Linked DNA regions of Homo sapiens: region 1 is linked to region 2. Evidence: promoter capture Hi-C in 16 types of primary human blood cells and fetal thymus (Javierre and others, 2016). All regions are on one chromosome and are shown on one strand. Each heading gives the region's core, a stretch centred on a gene start or on the middle of the fragment in contact. The rest is flanking DNA. Distances are from core to core; before and after follow the strand shown.

The links. Contacts are between HindIII fragments. The CHiCAGO score rates a contact against its expected background, and 5 or more counts as called.
Region 1: a fragment that was not itself captured here is called in contact with the fragment with the promoter of CHST13 in region 2 in 1 of 17 cell types (megakaryocytes); the score reaches 7.8 in megakaryocytes.

Annotation. Positions count from the first base shown.
Region 1 is chr3:126,632,179-126,639,019 of GRCh38, reverse strand. TXNRD3 (thioredoxin reductase 3) reads left to right here. Exons shown (of 16, transcript NM_052883.3): 7 at 4,969-5,111. Among named protein-coding and RNA genes, the nearest start is that of TXNRD3, 20 kb to the left of the region's middle. The HindIII fragment of the contact is 223 bases long and covers 3,855-4,077 here.
Region 2 is chr3:126,518,903-126,525,961 of GRCh38, reverse strand. It overlaps CHST13 (carbohydrate sulfotransferase 13), which reads right to left and starts at 1,807. Exons shown (of 3, transcript NM_152889.3): 1 at 1,533-1,807. The coding sequence starts at 1,629. RefSeq lists enhancers at 420-920, 921-1,421, 1,482-1,982, 1,983-2,483 and a silencer at 5,250-5,449. The HindIII fragment of the contact is 2,161 bases long and covers 1,136-3,296 here.

The DNA of each region.
Region 1 (6,841 bases), core at 2,717-5,216, 110 kb before region 2:
CTTGTGTGGATGATATCAGACCTGTGTGGTCTGTGCCAGCTGGGGACCTTTCTGTGTGTTACTTCTGTCTGTTCTCCATTGTCTTACATTCTCAGAGATAGCAGGATGTCTGCACACATTGCTTTGCTGCACTCCCTGCCCCCATGGGGTCAAATGACGTTAATTCTGTTCTAAGTGCTGAATATTTCTAAATACTTTCTAATTTCCTTGAATGGGTAAAATCTTATAATTAGCTTCCTCAAAGTTCCCCCTATACAAAATACTTTCTTTTTTCTTTTTTTTGAGACAGAGGAGTTTCACTATGTTGCCCAAGCTGGAGTGCAGTGGTGCGGTCTCAGCTCACTGCGTTCCTCCATCTCCCGTGTTCAAGCGATTCTCCTGCCTCAGCCTCCCGAGTAGCTTGGATTATAGGTGCACACCACCACGCCTGGCTGATGTTTATATTTTTAGTGGAGACGGGGTTTCACCATGTTGGCCAGCCTGGTCTTGAACTTCCAACCTCAGGTGATCCACCCACCTTGGCCTCCCAAAGTGCTGGGATTGCAGACATGAGCCACCGTGCCCGGCTAAAATGCTTTCTAAGTCTTTGGGGTGCTGACTAAGAAATACTTAGCTAGCCAACACATGGTGTATTTAGGTATAGACTCAATAAAGGGCCAAGAGAAGTCATCAGAATCTGAGCAGCAAAAGAGAGGAAGTCAAAGCATGCCAAAATCATGTTCTGGGAGAATGTTCTAGATACTTGCATTCTTGATATTGATAAAGACATATAGGCTAGGCTGGACGTGGTGGCTCACGCCTGTAATCCCAGTCCTTTGGGAGACCGAGGCGGGCGGATCACGAGGTCAGGAGATCAAGACCATTCTGGCTAACACAATGAAACCCTGTCTCTACTAAAAATACAAAAAATTAGCCAGGCATGGTGGCATGCGCCTGTAGTCCCAGCTACTCGGGAGGTTGAGGCAAGAGAATCGCTTGAACCCAGGAGGCGGAGGTTGCAGTGAGCCGAGATCATGCCACTGCTCTCCAGCCTGGGCGACAGTGAGACTCCATCTCAAAAAAAAAAAAAAAAAAAAAAAAAAAAAAAGAGAGAGAAATATAGGTTAAAATAAGTTTATAATGTATAGATAATTTCCAGATTAGAAACTGAATGAGCTTTCAAGTGAAAGTTTAAAAAGAAAGGGGAAAATATACAAAGAGAAGGTAGTAAAGAAAAAATAGAAAGGGAAGCAACATGAAACTACAAGTTAAAACAAACAAAAATAGCAACAGAAAATAAGATACCTTACATAAGAGTAGTCATATTACTTACTAGGATAAAGCTGAATGAGTCAGATTTTTGGGTTAGTAGATGGCAAAATTCTTCCATATGCTATGTTTAAGACAAATACCTAAAACCAAAAGAAATAATTGTTGAAAATATGGAAATTTTACATTTTAAGTAGGAAATTAAGAATTTCCTATTTAAAATTTTAGATGAGAAATTTTTAAACAGGAAAATGATATAGCAGGAAAATGTAAATAATATCAGTGGTAGTTAATATCAGATAGGTTGAATATAAGCAAAAAACAAGCAAACAGAAAAACTCAGAAATTAATGTTAGCTCCCTTCCCAAATAGAACTGATAAACAAAACCAAGACTGTATTTGAAAATACAAATAAAATAGGCAAATGTTTGGCAAATCCAATTAAGGAAATAAGGGGGGAAACTCATACAGATATGCAGCATCAGACATTAGAAAAGAAGTATAACTACAGATGGGGAGAGATGCCACAAATTGAGTATAAAAATTAGTGGTCATAATGTTAAATATCTTGATGAAAAGGAATATCTTCTATGAAAATATAAATGACCAGAATTGACTTGAATAATCAAAGAAAAAATATTGTGTAAGAATAACCCAGTCTCCAAAAGGTACCATTAGTGTTACAGGTACATTTTTCCAAATCTACAAGTAACAGGCACTTCCTGTATAATTTAAACCAGGGGTGTCCAATCTTTTGACTTCCCTCGGCCACATTGGAAGAAGAATTGTCTTGGGCCACACATAAAATACACTAACAATAGCTGATGAGCTAAAAAAAAAAAAAAATCACAAAAGAAACCTCATGTTTTAAGAAAATTTACAAATTTGTGTTGGTCCACATTTGAAGCCATCCTGGGCCTCCTGCAGCCCATGGGCCACAGGTTGGACAAGTTTGATTTACACTGTTCTGGAAAAGCTAGACTTAGAAAAGCCACCTTTTTTTGGAGGCTGAAATAACCATGATACAGAAAGATAGTCTAAAAATAGAAAACTATACCCCATAGAGGTGCCCAAACTCTAGGGCAAGCATTGGCAAATCCTCTCTGGTAGTGTCTTGAAGGAACAAATGTGAGTGGGTAGGGCTCGCCGTGGGGTGCAGGGAGGGGGTCAGCCCAGGATAGCACAGCAGGAGTGCACAGAATCAGCATGATGGCCAGGATTTCAGCTCTGAGGGCATTTCACACAAATCTCATACCCATTCCTGCTTTAGAAAACAAACAGATACTTCTTCACATGGTGGAGAAGAGTCAGAAGCAATACTTATTGGAGAAGAACTTGGGGTATTTTAATTAAGTCAAGAATCAGACATTCACTACTGATATCTGCACTGTTTAGAGCTTTGGATCAGTGCACACAAAGGGCCGATAGAAAAAGTACATAGATTGGAAAAGAAGTAATAAAAAGATATTTTAAATGTATGAGTTATGTTATACATGATTATATACAACATACATAGAATATATAAAAGATTAAACAAGAAATATTAGAACTAATGAGTTAAGTTGATTGCTTTTGTGAGACTGTGGCAGGAAAATTGCTTGAGATGAGGAGCTTGAGACTAGCCTGGGCAACATAGCGAGACCCCTTCCTTACAAAAATAAAAAATAGAAAAATAAGCTGGGCATGGTGGCTCATGCCTGTAGTTCCAGCTACTCGAAAGGCTGAGGCAGGAGAATTACTTGGACCTGGGAGGTCAAGGCTGCAGTGAGCCAAGACCATGCCATAGCACTCCAGCCTGGGCAGCAGAATGAGACTCTGTCTCTTAAAATATGTTTGTGTGTGTGTTTGTATATATGTGTGTGTGTTTATGTGTATATAGGTATATATACATGTGTATGTGTATATATATGTATGTGTGATGTGTGTAATATAAATATATACACATACTCACATGTATAATGGAAAATTGTAACAAAAAATGAAAATAACTTGAAATAAATTCAACCAGGAATGTACAGGATATATAAGGAAAGAATATAAAGGCATAACAAAAAATTTACTATGCTTTTATAGAGGATGTCTCAATATTGTGAAGACAGTATCTCAAAAATGGTTTGTAAATTTTATATAAGTCCAGTAAGATCTCCATGAGACTTTTTTTTTCTTTTTGGAGATTGGCTGATTATTTTAAAATTCGTTTTGAAAAATACATATGTGAAAATAGCTAAGCAACCTTTGAGAAAGTATAGAGGGTGACCTTTCTCAGTATTTAAAAATATTATACTGTTGCAGGACTAAACACATCAATAAAACAGTAGAACAAGTGGTTTCAAAGTGCCAGTTCATTGATTTGGCATATCAAAAACTCCAGGAGGAGCTTTTTAACTGTACAGGTTCTGGGGTCCCACTCCTGATTCCATAGTTTTTGGCAGGTCCTAGGATTTGTATAGGTCCACATGATTCCCATTATGATGTGCAGCTGTATTTGAGAGCCTGTAATCTAAGATGCCTTTTGCAACAAGAACAAGAAACAAAAGGACACATGAACTGTTAGTTGAGCTGACAGGATTCTTAGGATAAATAGTTTAAGGGTTGGAAGAAAAGCTTTTCTAGGGGATGGGGAGGAAGTATCTTTAGGATGTGAGGATATGTGCCATTGTGGTGACGTGGTCACTGCTGGGACAGGTTCGGGAATCATAACCAACATCACAGGGTGTGGGAGGATGAGGTAATGTAGTAAGAAGAACGACTATTCTGGGTTGCAAAATTTTAGGAGACTGGTACATTGGCATCATAGAAAGGGCCGTGTGTGTTGACATTGGCTAAGCTTCTCTGTGCACTGACTGTCCCCTCCAGTCGACTCCCTTTCCTGCATGGTAACATCCCATGTCCCTGGATGAGTAGGGGGGCATTTCTTGACAGTGATAGATGGGGTAATTTTCCAGATGTTACCCTTGACCTCAGGTTGTTGGTTTGTCTTCGGGGATCTCATCCAGTTATGATGAAAGCCCTGGCTGGGCTGACCCCTGCATCTTATAAACATAGAGCTGCACAGGGTGACCTTCAGGATCTGGCATCTGTAGACAAGGTGAACACTATGCAGTAAATCCCACCTAGAAGATACAGGGATGACGTGGAATTCCAACACCCGAATCCTGCCCCACCTTCCAAAGGAATGGGTAAACACTGTAATATTGAAGGTTGGCAGTGGTGAGCGTGAACCATATTTGTTGTAAAGACATGTAAGATATTCACTGTCATGAAACCACTGCCCTGTGAACCAAATGAGAGTGGAACCATGCCAGTCTGTTGAGGTGAGTGTACCAAGCTCACTGACTTGAGGCCTTCTTCCCATCCAAGAGCCAAGTAAAGTAGGTCCCATGGAGTGGGAAAGGGTTCTAGGAGGTGCCACCGAGGAGAGGTGAGCCTCCTGCCTTACGTCGTGGCAGGCGTTGCCATATGAGGGCCAGTTTCCCCATTTTCTCCTCCATGGACTTTTCCCCAGTTTTCTTCTTTTCAGAACTCTTGATTTTTCCACATTCTTTGTAATATAAATTAGGAAGAGTATAAACTATGGCTGGCATACAAAATATTTAAGTTACTGATTGTCTACTTCTTGATTTTTAAAGCACTGTTAGTATGGCTCATGTGTGGTTATATGTAATTTACCATTAAAGGTAAAATTCACCTAACATCTTCACCCTGATTATTTCTTCTTAGTGAGGCACAACTGGGAGACAATGACAAAAGCGATTCAGAACCACATCAGCTCTCTAAACTGGGGCTACAGGTTGTCTCTGAGGGAAAAGGCTGTGGCCTATGTCAATTCCTATGGAGAATTTGTTGAACATCATAAAATAAAGGTAGTGCTTGAGTTTCTTGTCTTGTTCATCTCCTTTCTTTACAATTGTTTATACTTGCCTTCAACTAAAATTTCATGTTGCATGTTAAGGGGTGTAACAGGCGTGCGTGCACACACACACACACGGCCATGCATGTGTGTGTGTTTCTCCCCTATTGTTTGCTAATTCTACATGTTTGGTTAACTTGAAGAAATTGTGTTTTAAAGAACTCTTAATTAAAAATTATTTGTCTTTGATTTTATTGCCGTCTTAAAAGAGAACATGTTTAAACTAAGTAGTTCAAAGTTTAAAAGACTAAAAAGATCAAAATTTTATTAGTGGAATCCTTCCTAAAAATGAAACCTTAACTAGAACTCCAATATTATATTATTCATAAAAGCATTGATAAAGTAGCATTAGAATTAGTGTGTTTTATAAGTTTATCTTTGTAATATTTATATATTATTAGATTAATACATATGGAAAATGAGATCATTTTGAGGAACACAAACAGTTTAATTGGAATTATGACAATCAGATATTGTCCTCATCATCTAGTTTATTTTTGTACTTTGTTAGCACAGTGTGAGATAATCTTCACAAGATTTTAGATTATTTTGTATTCAGCTGTTATCTCAGAAATGTGTGAGGTATGGTCCATTTAAAGCTGCCCTTCAATGCTTATTTTCAGCATTTTATTTAAATTTTTTTAATTTAACAGGAAATTGGGAGTATAACACAGTAAATATCCAAATATTCAATTCCTAGGTTTAACGGTTGTTATCATTTGCCATATAATCTATATTTTGGATGATGTGCTTTATTCAGTTAAAGATATATTTCACCCCTAAAAAAATATAATAGGATAAAGTCAGCCCTTTAAAACCTTACATGGGCCAATTTGAATTATATTATTTACATGAAACACAGCAGAAATACATGTTGTGTTTCTCAAATTGCCTGGCACACATGGTTGAATAAGCCCCAACCAAGCCTGCCTGTTGTGTGGCTCCTTGTTTAGTGATGCTAGCACATTCCCAGTCTGCAGGCGAGAAACTCCAGAGTCTCCGTTTCACCCCAGAGCCTGTACTTGCTTGTCTGTTTCAGAGCCCTTCTAAGCAAGGCTCTTTCTCCAGGCTCTGTTCTCCATCCCACTCATGATGCCAACCCACTTGTTTAAACACCTTCATTAATATTAGCATGTGAATGGTTTTTTTCTTTTTTTGTTGTTTCTTTTTTGTTGTTGCTTCTTTCTTTTTTTTTTTTTTTTGAGACAGAGTCTTGCTCTGTTACCCAGGATGGAGTGCAGTGGCGTGATCTTGATTCACTGCAACCTCCAGCTCCCGGGTTCAAGCAATTCTCCCACCTCAGCCTCCCAAGTAGCTGGGATTGCAGGCATATACCACCATGCCCAGCTAATTTTTGTGTTTTTTTAAGTAGAGATGGGGTTTCACCATGTTGGCCAGGCTGGTCTCGAACTCCTGACCTTGTGATCTGCCTTCCTCGGCCTCCCAAAGTATTTGAATTTTTTTAAAATGAAAATGTATTTTTGAATTATTTGTATAATTAAAAATTGTGAGCAACCTTTGTTGGTTCCCCATAGCCTAAGTTGTTAGGATGACATAAGGGCCTTCGCACTTGGCTCTAGTCTGTTTCATGTGACTTCTGACACAACCCTGCTCTCCAGTCTTCAAACACCAACTCCTCCTGGGCTCATGTGCTTTTGTGCGCATTGTTCTGTCTTCCAGGTC
Region 2 (7,059 bases), core at 558-3,057:
CTCCTAACACCTGCTGTCTCTTCCCAGGCTCTGCAGGAGAGGGAGGGAGGTCAGAAGGAACAAAGCCCAGAAGGTGACTAGTACCTTGGTTTGTTTCTCATCCCTCAAACCTGGGTAGAGTAGGTGACAGGAGAGAGGTGTCCCACGGAGACATGGGGACGCAGACACTCCATGCAGTCACTCAAAGATGTATGCTCCTTTGCAGACACTCCCCGGGACCCAGGCACTCAGGTGTCCTCTAACATCCCACGCTGAGCCCTGAGGGGCCAGTAGCCACCAAGTTCTGCCCTGTCTTAGTACTGGGTAAACATCTGTCTACTGAATGACTCGGTGGACAGAGGCTGTGGCAGCCACAGACACTGAGTCCACACCCCAGACTGCCAGGAGATTGTCTGCTCAACACCACCAGACAGCTCACAGAAGGGGTTGTGGGGGTGCTGGAAAGAGACACCCCAGCCCTATCCCATGGGCTTGGGGAGGCATCCAGGTCTGACCTGCTGTGTCTGGACACACAAGGGGCAAGGGGCAGTGTGAGGGTCAGGGGGAGTGGGCAGAGGCCTCCCCAGGCCCTGATATCCTCAAGTCTTGGGCCACTCCCACCCCCACTGCCCAACATCCCCGCCCACCCTGGACCTAGTTACTTACTCCCTGGGACTGTGTCTGCCAGGTTCCAAGGGTGGGGCCCAGGATTCTCAGAGCCCACACTGGGGGTGGGGAGGCGGACTGAGTCGTCCCACCCAGCACGCATACCACATACAAGGAAAGGCAAACAGCCCTGAGGTCAGGAGACCCGGGCGCTGGCTGGGCCCCTCCAGTCCCAAGTAGATTGTATAGCCAGCACGTTGCCACCACACCTGTCTCCCCACTCTCTGGCCCGCTTCAGATTGTGTGAAATGGGTTGATGGGAGGCTTCACATGAGCTGAGGAGAGACTCAGAGCAAAGACTCAGCACCGGTGGAGCCCAGGGCACTCAGCTCTGCGGAGTCATGACTAACTGCCTCAGTTTCCCCAGCCAGACCACGAGTGGGTGCACAGGAGTCCCAAGCCCTACCCAGTGTGGATTTCAGGGTGGAGCAGGGAGTGGCACCCACTGCACAGTAGGACAACCAAGGGACCGGACCGAGTGGCCCAAGCTTCCCCTCCTATGCGCATGCGCCCAGCAGCGCTCATGTCCAGGGGCCGTGGGGTGCGCAGGGGAAGGGGGTGAAGGTAAGGGAGATGGCCTTCCCGGATTGGCCAATTGTCCTCTACCCCCCACAACTGACCCCGGTCTCCAGGCACCGGCTGTGGGACTCAAAACAGTCACCGCTCTGGGAGTGGGGAGGTAACTCCGGAGGAGGAGCAAGAGCCTTTGCTCGCGGGGGCGTCTAGAGCCTTTCTGTGCCTCACCAGCGCCCCTGCCCGCCACCCCTAGCCCCAGCCAGGAAGGAGACAACAGGTGTCCCCCGCGCTGTCGAGGGGTCAGGCCGCGGTGGAAAGCGCGAGGAGCCAGGTTTGGTTGGGGGTGCGCGGCTCGGCCGGCGGGCACTCACCCGGGCGCAGGGAGCGGGGCGCGGCGCATAGGAGCAGGAGCGCGGCGCCCAGACAGGCGGCCGCCAGCACGCGCCGCCGGCAGCAGCGCCTCCCCATGCTGTGCCGGGCGCGCGGCGGAGGACAGTCCGCTGGATACGGCTGGGGGCGGAGTTGCACTGGCCCAGGACCCGGCCCCGGCAGCGCAGCGCCTACCAAGACGCGCGGCGCGGCGCAGGGCAGGGGAGCACGGCAGCTGGACCCCAGCCCCACCAGCCCCTGCGAGTCGCTGGGGACTGAGGAGGCGGGACACGGTGGGGCCGCAAGCCCGCTCCTCTTTTCGTGCCCCCACCCTCACCCAATGGAATGGGGCCGAAGTCCAGGGCGCTAGGGCGGAGACTGATTGGGGAAGCCCCTCGCCTCTGGGCCCCGCCCCTAGGGTTTGCCCAGGGGTGCCATTATCCACCCAAGGCCAAGAGGCATTGTCGCGGTGGCGTGCCCCACCCCGGGCGGTGTCCCCTTGCCTTTTTGCTGCCTTAGATGCCAGGGGCCCAAGGGCTGATCTGGGATGAACCAAGGAGCCTAGTAGAGCGTTGCCCTGTCCATGGCTCTCCGGGACCCCCGCCCTCAGTAAGAGGCCTAAGAGTGTCCCTCCCTCCCCGACCCAAGGCTACCCTGCAGCCTTGCTTTCCTCCAGGGTCTCCAGGTCCTGCCTGAATCTAGCTCATGCAGGTGGCACTAGCCTTTGCACAGAGAGGTAGGGTCTCAGCTTACATCCCCCGGGGAATGGAGCTTGTGCCTCATCGTGTCACCCACAACTTCTCTGGGCACCACGTGAGCTCTGAGGACTTGCCAGGGACTGTGTGTGTGTGTGTGTGTGTGTGTGTGTGTGTGTGTGTTGGGGGGTGGAGGGGGCGAGGTGAGAGTAAAGTCCAGCCTTTGAAAGACACACACATCCAGCTAGCCCTGTGGGCAGGAGCCCACGTCTAACCGCAGGGTCTTGCTGCCCAGAAGTCAGGCTAGCAGGGAACGGGAGGGTGCAGCTGGCACTGGGTGCGCGGATGAGTGCGTTGGAAACAACATTTAGCAGTGTGAGTGCATGGGATAGGGTACTACATTACACTGTAGGTTTTTTTTGGAGTTTTTTGTATAAATGTAAGGGACACAAGTGCAGGTTTGTTACATGGAGATATGCAGTGGTGAGGTCTGGGCTTTCCGTGTAACCATCACCTAAATAATGTCCATTGTACCCATTAAGTAATTCCTCATCCCTCCCACCTCGCTCACTCTCCTACCCTTCCAAGTCTCCAGTGTCTATTATTCCACACTCGAAGCTCCAGTTGTTAAACTGTTCTTGAAAAATGTGGTGACTCCAAACCCACCTGGTGCCGCTTACTGCTGTGGGAGATTAGGAAATTAACTGCACCTCTCTGTTTCCCATTTTCCTGTACGGGGGGATAATCCTAAACCTCAGTGCTGTGAAGATTAAATGAGATACAGGAAATGTTTGCAACAGTGTCTGGCACTCAGTGAGTGCCAGGTAAGTATTTGATATTAGTAATTAATTTGTTTATGGTTACTGCCTGTTTCTGGCAAGTGGCTGGTTTCTGTTAAAGTGGTGAAATAAAAATTTCTCCCTACTATATTTATTTAAGTTGTGGAAGATCTATTTAAGGAAGAATATTAAGCAAATAATAGTTCTGCTGGTTTTGAGATACAGCTTTAAATGGTGATGATGTTCTCAAAGGACAGGGGTGGGAGTCCAGACTCACAGTAAGCTAGAAGCTTCTTATCATGACTTTTCTGGCCTTGGGGAACCTCTAGCCCACCCCCAGACTGGCCCAGGACCCAGGGATTCCAGGTCATCTGCATTCCCTGCCGGACCTAACTCGCATCCAAAGGTGCCTTCCAAATTTCCCCAGACCGGCATTCCCTGGCCTCACTGCCAGCCTGGAATCCTCAGCGCGCTTTGCCCTTATATGCTGCCACCTGGTGGCCAAAGTTGGGAATAACATCTCAGCCCTTCATCCGGAGATGTCCCTGGAAATGGGGTCCCTGGAGAAAGGAAGAGATGGTCTTGGGTCTTGGGGTGGGAGGGTGCAGATGCCTGGCTAGACGCCCGGGGCCTAGGGAGCTTCCCTGCGAAGACGCCCTCTCCCAGGGACTCGCATTCATTCATTCATTCGACAGATACAGAACACCCACTCCGTGCTGAGGCCTGGGTGGAGAGGGTGAGACCCATGCAGTGTCTGCCCTCACAGCATTTCCATTACAGATTGGAAGCACGGAAAATCAGGATAGAGAGATAGAGCGGTGAATGCTGCTGTGAAGAAAACACAGCGGGTACCAGGATGAAAAGTGTGTCCGGTGCAAGGAGGGTGCCGGGGCAGGCCTGGGGGAGGTGGCATTGGAGCAGAGATGTGACTCCAGGGAGCAGAAGCCAGCAGGTACCATTGCAAAGGCCCTGAGGTGATGTTCCAGTTGCTGTTGCTAGGTAACAAACTGCCCTAAAATTTGGCCGCTTAAGACAACCATTTAAATTTTGCTCACAATTTTGTGTATTGGGAATTGGGGCATGGGCTTGGCTGAGTGCTCATGGGAGTCTCAGGCTGCCACAGTCAGAAGGCAGCTGGCACTGCATCACTGGGAGGCTCACCCAGGCCCAGTGTCCCACTGGCTCACACTGGCAGGTGGTGTCCGTCTGGAAGCTCTGCTGGGCAGCGATCCAAGGATCCCCTCAGGGCACCCTTCATTCTGGGGGCCTCCTGGGGCACCCTCCAGCCCTCGGGGCACCCTCTGGCCTGGGGTCCTCCTGGGGGCAGCCTCCATTCTGGGGGTCTCCTTGGGCCACCCTCTGGCCTCCAGACATCCTCGGGGCACCCTCCAGCCTGGGGCCCGGTGTGCTGCTCCCACAGAGCCTGGCTGTGTGGCCATTTTCTGACCTGGCCTGGGGCTGCCTTTTGTTGGTTACCCAAAGATCGCTGAGGCTGGACCAGACTCAGGAGTGGGGCCACACCCACCAGCAGTGCCCAGGAATTTGCGGGCATGTTTTAGAACCACCACCGCCTGTCCCAGGAATAGCAGGGAGGTTCTGGAGTGGGCGAGAGTGAATGGGTGAAGTCAGAGAGGCAGACAGGGAGTCCAGATCCCATGGGTGGGTTTTTCTAAGCACAGAGGGAAGCCGTCCCTGAAGAACAGTTGAATCACAGATGGCACCTCTGCTGCTCTGTGGGAGGCAGGGAGGAGGTGGAGGCCAGGAGAGGAGCCAGAGCTGTCTCTGTGAGAGATGATGCTTTTTTTTTTTTCATGGAGGAAACCGTTAGAAAAATAATACTTCATCTTGTCTGGCACGTATTCTGTGCAAGGCACTATTCTAAGCCCTTCATGTGTGTTATCTCATGTGATCCTCAGATGCATCCTATGAGGTATATAATAGACTTTCATTTTACAGATGAGGAAACTGAGGCAATGAGAGGCTCAGTAACTTACCCAAGGACACAGCTAGAGAGTGATGTAGCCAGGGTTGTTTGAAACTAGCAGTCTGCCATATTTAACTTCTGTGAGATCTTCATTCTCTCTCTCTTTTTTTTTTTTTTTTTTTTTTTGATCTTTTGCCTAGACTGGAGTGAAGTGGCACAGTCTCGGCTCACTGCAACCTCCGCCTCCTGGGTACAAGGAATTCTCCTGCCTCAGCCTCTCGAGTAGCCAGATTACAGGTGCCCACCACCATGCCCGGCTAATTTTGTCTTTTTAGTAGAGACGGGGTTTTGCCATATTGCCCAAGCTGGTCTTGCACTCCTGACCTCAGGTTATCCTCCCGCCTCAGCCTCCCAAAATGCTGGGATTACAGGCATGAGCCACCGCGTCCAGCCAAGATCTTTGTGCTTTTAAATAGTTAGGCAATGTTTGTTTGCTTTTAATTAAACTATTCTGGGGTCACTAGATTTGTGTGCAGTTGTAAGGAAGAAAGATCCCATGTCCCCTTTACCCACTTTCCCCCAGTGCTAAGATCTTGCAGAACCACACTGCAGTAGCCCAGTGGGGATGTGACATGGACGCCATCCACACGACTTCTGCACAATGTTCACCTTTTCACAAATTGGTTGCTGATGTTTAAAACTCAGGAGATTTCAGAAAACCTGCTGGATTTCTGGCTGCTCTTGAGCCATGAGACGTGGGGCGTCCTGTGCAGTGGGCCCTGAGACCAGGTCTTGGTGCAGTTTGTTAAGGGTCTGTCTGTTGGGGAGTGCATAGTGAGCTGGGCAGGGGAAGCAACTGACCGAGGTACAATCTCCCCACCCTGAGGGGCAAGGGACCTGGGTGCTTAGGGGCTGTTCCCTGGGCAGGTGGGGAGGGGCTGCTAATTCTCCATCCCTTCCAGCTGCCCTCTGAGTGGGAAGAAGACACTCAGGGTCACCAGAAGACACCCTTGAGAAGACAGCCGAAGGTGCTGGCCGCTGGCGTCCAGGCTGCACAACTTCTGTCTTGTGCACTCTGTTCCCAGGGCCTGCAACAGCACCTGTCATAAGAAGGATTGAGTGTGGGATGCTTAAGCCTGAGCACCTTTCTGCATGCTCTGTCCCAGGTGGCCCTGGCTGGTGAGGAGCAGAGATGCCACAGGCCCAGTATGAGAACAAACCTTGTCCTTCTTCATTCACACAACACAACACAACACGCCCCAGTCACCAAAGTACATGTGGGCTTTTTCCAGCAGCCAGCTTTTCAGCTGGGTGTCTCCTCCAGCTAGGTGTCCCAGTCAGCTCAACTCTGACACCACCTGCTGGGGATGGCATGAGATCCCACAGGTTGAGGGCTCAGTCCCACAAGATCGCCCCCAACTTCAGATGCTGCAAGCACAGGTTGTGGTCTGTGGACTGTGGTTCTGACCACAGTCTGGCTATAAACTGGGGATTCCAGGGTTCATTTAATTTGCTACTGTGGCTCACAAAACTCAGAGAAACCCTTTATTATTGATGTGTACTGGTTTCTTATAAAGGACATTACGAAGAATATAGATGAACAGCCAGATGGACAAGATGCCCAGGATGAGGTGTGGGGAAGATGCACAGAGCTTCTGTGCCTTCTCTGGGCATGACCCTCTCCAGGAATCTGCCTGTGCTCAGCTGCTGGGAAGCTCTTCTGAACCCTGTCCTTTTGGGTTTTTAGGGAGGCTTCATGACCTACACAACTGACTAAATCATTGGCCTTTGGTGATCAACTCAGCCTTCAGCTTCTCTCTCCTCCCCAAAGTCAGGAGGCTGCTGAAGGTTCCAACCCTCTAATCACAGGTTGGTTCCCTTGTCAACCAGCCCCAATCCTGAGGATATCAGGGATCTGCCAAGAGTCCCCTCGGTAGAACAAAAGAGCTCTGCTCCTGTCACCCAGGAAATTCCAACAGCTTTAGGAGCTCTGTGTCAGGAACCAGGGTCAAAGATCAAACGTTAGAACAAAAGATTCTCCTAGAGTTTCCATCTACCAGGGCCTCAGGAGCTTTGTGGCAGGAACAGGGAAGAGATCAAAGCCTGTTTCTTATTCTATCACAGTCTCACA